Linked DNA regions of Homo sapiens: regions 1 and 3 are each linked to region 2. Evidence: promoter capture Hi-C in 16 types of primary human blood cells and fetal thymus (Javierre and others, 2016). All regions are on one chromosome and are shown on one strand. Each heading gives the region's core, a stretch centred on a gene start or on the middle of the fragment in contact. The rest is flanking DNA. Distances are from core to core; before and after follow the strand shown. Region 1 overlaps LOC105376435 (a long non-coding RNA gene). Region 2 holds the start of CDNF (cerebral dopamine neurotrophic factor). Region 3 overlaps FRMD4A (FERM domain containing 4A).

What was found. Contacts are between HindIII fragments. The CHiCAGO score rates a contact against its expected background, and 5 or more counts as called.
Region 1: a fragment that was not itself captured here is called in contact with the fragment with the promoter of CDNF in region 2 in 1 of 17 cell types (neutrophils); the score reaches 5.6 in neutrophils.
Region 3: a fragment that was not itself captured here is called in contact with the fragment with the promoter of CDNF in region 2 in 1 of 17 cell types (naive CD8 T cells); the score reaches 6.4 in naive CD8 T cells.

The regions. Positions count from the first base shown.
Region 1 is chr10:16,819,934-16,822,811 of GRCh38, forward strand. It overlaps LOC105376435 (a long non-coding RNA gene), which reads left to right. Exons shown (of 3, transcript XR_930708.3): 3 at 895-1,324. Among named protein-coding and RNA genes, the nearest start is that of RSU1, 3.9 kb to the left of the region's middle. The HindIII fragment of the contact is 1,317 bases long and covers 814-2,130 here.
Region 2 is chr10:14,836,498-14,839,504 of GRCh38, forward strand. It overlaps CDNF (cerebral dopamine neurotrophic factor), which reads right to left and starts at 1,540. Exons shown (of 4, transcript NM_001029954.3): 1 at 1,335-1,540. The coding sequence starts at 1,449. It overlaps HSPA14 (heat shock protein family A (Hsp70) member 14), which reads left to right and starts at 1,809. Exons shown (of 14, transcript NM_016299.4): 1 at 1,809-1,962. The coding sequence starts at 1,906. MSANTD7 (Myb/SANT DNA binding domain containing 7) reads left to right here and starts at 1,809. Exons shown (of 5, transcript NM_001378785.1): 1 at 1,809-1,962. RefSeq lists a silencer at 1,593-1,702 and an enhancer at 1,853-2,092. The HindIII fragment of the contact is 8,843 bases long and covers 1-3,007 here.
Region 3 is chr10:13,785,970-13,788,988 of GRCh38, forward strand. The region is part of intron 5 of FRMD4A (FERM domain containing 4A); the gene reads right to left. Among named protein-coding and RNA genes, the nearest start is that of PRPF18, 200 kb to the left of the region's middle. RefSeq lists enhancers at 1,475-1,524, 2,340-2,930. The HindIII fragment of the contact is 4,505 bases long and covers 1-3,019 here.

The sequences.
Region 1 (2,878 bases), core at 222-2,721, 2.0 Mb after region 2:
AACCAAACTGTTTTTGCTACTCTCCACTGGCTCAACACTTCTGACACCAGAGAATCCCCCACACATGAAACAGTTCTCCAGCAGACACCAGCTCGGTGTCTTACAGTTTAACTTAATTCTGACACTGTCTACCTCAACTTATAGTCAAATCCCACAAGTTAAGGGTTCATTTCCACAAGACTTTAGGTTGACTGTCACCTACACTTCTGACTGACCAGCTATAAATCAGGGTTCCCACACCCCCTTCTCAGGTTTGATTAATTTGCTAGGATGATGGTTAGCCTGTCCAGGGTCCTGATTGCTAGCAGTGAAACTTCATGGTGACACAATTTGGAATCAGGAAACTTATCCCTTGGCCACTAGATCTGGGAAGTTGGCTCAATGTATGTTTCACCAGATAAGAATATTAAGGTTTTTGCCTCAGGACTGGCTCAGGAAATCAAGCAAGATGGAGCTGGGAAGTGTGCTTTGTGAAGCTGGGAGACATCAGCTGATAGTCTTGTATGGCTGTCTTGTTCTCTGCTTTATCCTCAGTGCGCTGAGTACGTATCACATAGCTGATGCTCAATAAACATTTGGAAACAAGTGAATTAAATGTAAAGCAGAACCAGAGGATATACGGTGGGTCTTACGAATGAGAGTACAGTTGACTCTTTTCTCCTTCTTCCAGCTGAATTACTCAAAAACTGAATTACTCAATAACTACTTCCCTTGGCTATACACGAAAATGTCATGCTCCCAAGCCTGACCATCCCTAACCCACTAAAAAATCACTGCTTATTTCCTAGATGCCCAGCCTGGAAGATTTTGTAAAGCTTCATTTTGTCTCTTTTTTTCTGTATTTTTAATTTTAAAATTACATAATAATATTGACTATGCTTTCCTCAATTTCAGGTACACACTTCCCAGATATTCCAATATGCCTCCTAGAAAAGCATGCCCTTCTGAGTGGAAATGATACCGTTACTCTAATGATGCAGTCCATGCTCTAAGCATCATTTTTTTGACAGTGACATCATGTTAATCTTTCTTTCAGAAAAGTACTATGTCATTTCATGTTATTGTTAAACTTTCCCTGTATTCTGTACTTTTGCAATTCATTTTTTGATAAAAGAGGAAGATCTTATATCTGTCACATTTCGTCTGTTACAATTGGCCCATTGTTGTAGCTTATCAAGACCTTTTGGATTTGATGGTGTTACTTATCGCATTCACTGTCCTTTCCAATGTAATTGTCACCCATAAAGTTGATATGTCTATCCATAATACAAAAAGGGAGCAGGAATTGTTGTTGTTGTTGTTTGTTTTTTTGAGATGGAGTCTCATTCTGTAACCCACACTGGAGTGAAGTGGCGCGATGTTGGCTCACTGAAACCTCCGCCTCCTAGGTTCAAGTGATTGTCCAGCCTCAGCCTCCTGAGTAGCTGAATTTTCAAGGTTAGAGTATTTTATTTCTGTGGCTCCATACTCTGTCCAGAAATAATTATCTGCCATTTGAGTATTAGAGTAAGATGAAGTTACATTCCTCAGCTTCTCTCATTCACATGGTCTTTTGTTAATAACCCTTGATTTTGCATAATTAACATAAAGCAAATCTCCTTTGTAAAGGCTTCCGCTTTTCTAGAGGCACTGAAAAACTTTATAAAAGCATTGAATTTTCTTATGAAAAGGAAGCTAATAACTACCTCACTTAGTTACATGTCTGGCAGCATTGGAGATAAGGATGTGCTACTGAACTTTCTACTTCTTGTTAAGTGGCAAACCATATTGTTTATTTATAACTTAACATATTGTGTTAAGGAATAGGCAATGGTGGTGCTTATGGAAACTTTGTACTCCTGAGCGTAAATACATAATAGAGTTTGGATATTTGTCCCTGCTCAAATCTCATGTTGAGTTATAAAAGCCAGTGTTGGAGATCGGCCTGGTGGGAGGTGTTTAGATCGTGGGGGTAGATCCCTCATGAATGGCTTGGGCCATACCCTTGGTGATAAGTGAGCTCTTGCTCTGAGTTCACATGAGAGCTGGCCACTTAAAAGTGTGTGGCACCTGTCCCATACTCTCGCTGTCTTGCTCCTGCTTTCACCGTGTGACATGCCTGTTTCCCCTTCGCCTTCCTCCATGATTATAAGCTTCCTGAGGCTGCCCCAGAAGCCAAGCAGATGTCAGCACCATGTTTCCTATAAAGCCTGCAGAGCTGTGAGCAGATTAAACCTCTTTTCTTTATAAGTTACCCAGTCTCGGGTATTTCTTTATAGCAATGCAAGAATGATCTATTACAGAAAATTGGTACCAGGAGTGGGGTTTTGTTATAAAGATACCTGAAAATGTGGAACTGACTTTGGAACAAGATAATGGGTAGAGGTTGGAAGAGTTTGGAAGGCTCAGAAGACATAAAGATGAGGGAAAATTTGGAACTTCTTAGAGACTGTTTAAAAGTTGCAACTAAAATTCTGATAGTGATATGGATAATGAAGTCCAGGCTGCCAAGGTCTTCGATGGTAATGAGGAACTTAGTGGGAACTGGAGCAAAGGTGACACATATTATGCCTTAGCAAAGAACTTGGCTGCATTCTGTCCATGCCCTAGGGATCTGTGGAAGTTTGAACTAAAGAGTGGCAACCTGGGGTATCTGGTGGAAAAAATTTCTAAGCAGCAAAGTGTTCAAGATTTGGGCTGGCTGCTTCTAATAGCATGTGCTCAGATGTGGGAGCAAAGAAATGACTTCGAATTGGAACTTATATTAAAAAGGAAAGCAGAGTGTAAAAATTTGGAAAATTTACAGCCTGGCCATATGGCAGAGAAAGAAAAAGCTTTTTCAGGAGAGGAATTCAAGCAGGCTGTGAGGCATCCACTTGCTAGAGATATTTGCATAACC
Region 2 (3,007 bases), core at 290-2,789:
CAATTATAGCATGGTTTGGAGCAAAATTATAACTTAGCTAAACAAATATCTTTATATCGAGTAATAACATGTAGATATTTTAAATTTCTGGAGAAAAGTTTAATTATTGCAGAGCTCATAGAAAGCCAGGCTCCAATTATTAACACTTTAAGGACTGGGCGCTGTGGCTCACGCCTGTAATCCCAGCACTTTGGGAGGCTGAGGCGGGCCGATCACCTGAGGCCAGGAGTTCAAGACCAGTCTGGCCAACATGGTGAAACTGCATCTCTATTAAAAATATAAAAATTAGTCAGGCGTGGTGGTGGTGCCTTTAGTACCAGCTACTTGGGAGGCTGAGGCAGGAGAATCGCTGGAACCCGATGATGGAGGCTGCAGTGAGCCAAGATTGTGCCACTGTACTCCGGCCTGGGCAACACAGTGAGACTGTCTCAAAACAAAAACAAAAACAAAAAACAAAACAACAAAACAAACAAAAACACAACTTTAGTACGACTATACCCATCCATTCACTCAACATATATGATGAACCTACAATTTCCTGTTCACTAGGGATATATTTTCCAGCTGAGGGCATATACATTTAAACTAATTATTTTCAGTAAAACATGGAGTGAGCGCTACAGGAGTCCAGAAGGAAGGGGCTAGCATAGCCACTTACCTTCTTTGCCTTTGCTAACAGATCTCTAAAGTGAAGTACGCTGATTTTGCAAAAACCAAAGTCTCAGAGCTAGGGGACTTGGTGGGATACAGACTCACGTATTCTGACTGCGAGTTCACAGCTGAGATACCGTGAACAAAAAGGAACCACTCTTTTGTATTCCTCTCTTTCCCAAGGAGTCAGTGTACTCCTTTGCAAAGCAATTTTCACCTACAGAGTCCTAACAAATATTAGCTATGTCCTCTGATTTAAGCTACTCAACTCAATGCCATGTTTTGTTTTCCTTTGGGGAGTCACCAACTAGCTTGGACTTGAAAGACGTCTTCTGTGCAAGGGGAGGCAAATCTTGCTGGTTGGAAGCAGCAGAATCAATCTGGCGCCAGTATCATCTGAATCTAGCATTCTTTGCACAAACTCTAATCCAAATACAAACCCACCAGCTTTTACTGCTGAAGTTTAATATTCACAGCAAAACCACAACGTGGCCTCACGTTACCACCAGGCCCGGCTTGAGCTTTTTACTCGAGCTGGGCTTGGGCGATCTAAAACGAGGGACAGGGCCTGCATTTCCTGGGCGGAATGTTATTTATAGCCAGGGCCAGGAGAAGCCAAAGCCGACAGCTGCTGCGCCGCAGCGCGGGGCCGCCGCCATGCAAGCAGTTGTCACACCGCTCACCTTCACAGTCGGCCCCTGGCCGCCCCCCGGCCTCCTGGCCCTGCGTCAGCACCGGGTGAGAGACCAAAAGCCCGGCGCAAAAGGCCACCACAGCAACTGGGCTCGCGCACCACATGCTGGGCCAGCAGCTTCAATCGCCTCCGCCACCCGCGCCCACCGCCCACCAAGCTGCCAAAGCGAGCTGAGCAGAATTCGAGGTTGGAAAGAATCTGCCAGTAGTTGCCAGGACAAATGACGCAACTGAACACAGAGTTTCCATTGGCTCTCAAGGAAGGGATAGGAAGGGGGCGGAGTGTAGGAGCCTTTTCCCGTCCCTCCCCGGTTGCGCGTGCGCACTGTGCAGTTTCCGCGGAGCGCAGAGACGCGCTGAAGCTACTCGCGGACTGCGCGTGAAGAAAGGCGGAACCTTCACGCTGATTGGCGGCGACGCGGGAGGCTGTAGCGGCCGACCGGACGCAGGGGGCTGGCGGGAACGTGAAGCTCCGCGGTGCCTGATGGGGCCGTTGGGCGGCCGGTAGCTGTTGCTGTTGGGGGACCCCCTCATTCCTGCCGCTGCCGTCCCTGCTGCCTCATGGCGGCCATCGGAGTTCACCTGGGCTGCACCTCAGCCTGTGTGGCCGTCTATAAGGTGAGGGGCTGCGGAGCTGGGCTAGGGCTTCATGACGGCCACCCGGTTTTCTGGCGCTGGGTCATCCACAGGCTTGAGAGCGGCGTGTCGCCGGCCTAGGGATGTCGTGGAGTGGCGTTGCCGCGAGGACACTCCGGAGCGAAGGGCCGGGCAGGCCCGGCCTCGCGCCTGGCGATTCCTCCGGAAAGTCGTCTACTCCGCGGCGGAGGCTCGCGGCGATGTAGACGCGCGGGGTCCCAGGGCGTCATGGCGGCGGGATGCCCGGAGGGGTCCCAGGGACGACGTAGCTGCAGGGTGCCCGGGGGGGTCCCGGAGACAGCGGGGCCGCTGGGTGTCCCGGGGGGTCCCGGGGACGGCGGGGCTGCGAGCATTTTGGGGGAGGTCACGGGGACGTCCTGGCCTCTGGATGCCGGAAGGGGTCTCGCTGACGTCAGGGCCTCAGGATTCCCGCGGGTGGGAGGTCCTGGGAAAGTTGTGGCCGCGAGGTACTTGGAGGCGGTGGTCTCTGGGACAGCAGGGCCGCAGAACGCGCTGAGCTGGGCCCGAACGTCTAGGTCCCGGAGGGGCGGGGAGGCTGCAGTCGAGCTGGGGCTGATGGTCCCGCAAAGCTGCCTGGCTGTGAAGCCAGTTGATGGTGCGTGGTCTACAGAGGTGGCCTTTCTGGAAGTGAGAGCCTGACAGGACTTGTGGCCTTTCTCTCATCAGTGGGGAGGCAGAAGAAACGATAATCATGAACTCCGTTGCCACTAGTCCCGCGTTTAAATGTCAAATGACTTGTTAGGAAAAGCCAAAGGGAATAATACTACTTCATTTGTAGAAATGGGAAGAAAGGGGCCCAGCGCGGTGGCTTACGCCTGTAATCCCAGCACTTTGGGAAGCCGAGGCAGGCGGATCACGTGAGGTTAGGAGTTCTAGACCAGCCTGGCTAACATGGTGAAACCCCGCCTCTACTAAAAATACTAAAAATTAGCCGGGAACGCCTGTAATCCCAGCTGCTCAGGAGGCTGAGGCATGAGAATGGCTTGAACCCGGGAGGCGGAAGTTG
Region 3 (3,019 bases), core at 181-2,680, 1.1 Mb before region 2:
CATAGTATTCCATGGTGTATATGTGCCACATTTTCTTAATCCAGTCTACCACTGATGGACATTTGGGTTGGTTCCAAGTCTTTGCTGTTGTGAATAGTGCCACAATAAACATACGTGTGCATGTGTCTTTATAGCAGCATGATTTATAATCCTTCAGGTATATACCCAGTAATGGGATGGCTGGGTCAAATGGTATTTCTAATTCTAGATCCTTGAGGAATCGCCACACTGTCTTCCACAATGGTTGAACTAGTTTACAGTCCCACCAACAGTGTAAAAGTGTTCCTATTTCTCCACATCCTCTCCGGCACCTGTTGTTTCCTGACTTTTTAATGATTTGATTTTCAAAAAATAAATCTATATCGTAGCTCATGCCTGTAATCCCAGCACTTTGGGAGGCCAAGATGTGTGGATCAACTGAGGTCAGGAGTTCGAGACCAGCCTGGCCAACATGGTGAAAGCCTGTCTCTACTAAAAATACAAAAAATTAGCCAGGCGTGGTGGCGGACACCCGTAATCCCAGCTACTTGGGAGGCTGAGGCAGGAGAATCGCTTGAACCTGGGAGGCGGAGGTTGCAGTCAGCTGAGATCATGCCATTGCACTCCAGCCTGGGCAACAAAAGCGAAACTCCGTCTCAAAAATAAATAAATAAATCTACATCCTTTGCAAAGGGCCTCTGGCAAAGGGTAGGCAGAATAATAAAAGAAACTAAAGGAAGGAAAAGAAGGAAAAGCGAGGAAAGGGAGAGAAAGGGGAGGCAAGGAAGAGAGAAAGCAATCCTAACACCAGAATATTAACAGAAGCCTCCTGAAGTTGACGGTGGCCTTTGTGCTCTAATGATGATTTTGAGTCTAAATTCATATAAGGTCTGAAATAACTTAATTTTCAAAGTAATGCCATATGTTTCTTAAAAGAATCTCATTTGCTTTAGTTCTTAAAAAGTAAAGAGTAAAGACATCCTGCCTCTTCCACCCCAATTTTCTCCTGAATAGTATATTAAGAAAATATAACGCTTCCCTTTTCGTTTCCACTCTCATATGATGGAAAACTGAATTGAGGTGGCAAATTCTACATCTCTGTGACTGCCTTCATTTCCACCAAGCTCTCTGTTGTCTAGCCATAAAAGGGGCAGAGAAGGTACAGGAAATAACACGCATATTCTGAGATGAAGAGAAAAAAAATCACCTCCTCTCGACGGAAGTGGAAAGCAGTTTCCTGTTAACTTTTATCACCAAGACGACAGCCTGGAAAACCCCGTGAGCTCCGGGCCTGTCATATCATTGTTCTGTTAGGGGAGGGTATGGAGCTCATCCTGAGCTTTCCCTCCCTGCCAGGGAACGGCTGAGTCAAAAACGCCTGCAGAGAAACAGAGCTCAGACCTCTCCACCCGCACGCCCAGAGAGGCATGGTGCACACCGGTGGCACCAGGGACAAGAGCCTCCTGGGAAGATGGGGAGGGCTGAGGGTTTGGATTCAAAGTCAAAATTTTTTTTTCTTTTTTTTCTTTTTGAGATGGGGTCTTGCTCTGTCACTCAGGCTGGAGTGCAGTGTGCAACCACAGTTCACTGCAGCCTCGACCTCCTGGGATCAAGTGACCTGTCTGTCTAAGCCTCCCAGATAGCTGGGACTACAGATATAAGCCACCATGCTGACTAATTTTTTATTTTCTGTCGAGATGGGGTCTCACTATGTTGCCCAGGCTGGTCTTGAACTCCTGAGCTCAAGTAATTATCCTACCCTGACCTCCCAAAGTACTCAGGTTACAGGCCAGCCTCTTCTTCTTTTTTTTTTTTAATCCAGTTTTTGGCTGGGCATAGTTTTTGGCCGGGCATAGTTTTTGGCCGGGCATGCCTGTAATCCCAGCACTTTGGGAGGCCGAGGCAGGCAGATCTGTCTCAAAAAAAAAGAAAAAAAAAAAAAGTGGCTTCTTTTTCTGATTTTCAGGAGAGCCTCAGCAGTAGGTGGCAATGTTGCATTTCCTTAACTACCAGCATGGAGCAGGGAGTGCTTCCAGGGTTCACAAAGAACATTCCAGGTCTCTGGGTAACCAGGGAAATAAATGAAGGCTATGTCTCGGATTCAGAGGGTCTGCATGGACAGTTCCGAGTCTGGCTGTGTATTGACCATGGCTTTATGATGCTTGGATGTCTGTGACCTTGCTGGGCCTGGAGGGACTGCTGGTGCCAGGGTTAGCCAATTTCCAGACCCCAAGACTTCCACATGTCACCATGGATCCAGGGTCCACCCCTCCCACCACCTCTCGGCTCTCACACCCAGGGCCACTATTTCCCTGCCCTCACCACCCTAGGGACACGTACCAGACAACTAGGGGGCAGCCCCCATGCTGCAGAGCCCGCTGAAATTATTTAAACTAGCCAATCCCAAGCCTGCTCTCCCAGCCTTGCCCGTTCCTCCCCAAAGAAACCACAAAAAATGCTCTTGCCCAATTGTTTCCCGGCTCCCCAATGCCTCCCACATGGCCCTGCGTGGCATGGTGTGGCCCCTTCTCCCAGGAACTGAGTGACAATCTTTTCAATGTCTGTCCTCTCCTCATCTGCTGGCCTCACCACAGCTGAATCATAATCAGACCTACATTTTAAACGGGTTTTGGGGGCACACTTAGCAGGACTGAATCTTAGGGCATCTATTTGAGTCTAAAGGAACACTCTAGATGGAGCGCAGACCTTGCTAAGAGGTTTCCTGACTCCACAAGCAACAGCCCACCCAAACTAGCTCAGATGATCCCGACCCGAGAATATTTTATCAGAGAGTCTGAAGGAGAACGAAATAGGTGCTCTGTGTTTATGTGTTTGAGCTTATTAAATATTAAACAGCCTCTAAAGCCTCGGGGAGTCCCGTCCCCTTCTTTGACAAGTGAAAGCCTCTGGTTGCAATAGACTGAACACTGCCTAGTCAGATGGCAAGGGCCCAGCCAGATGACATCAGCCAGGTCTCCTCCTCCATTCTCCCTGCTCTCCCTTTCCCTTCCCCATCCAGCCCTGGGCACTTGGGAATCAC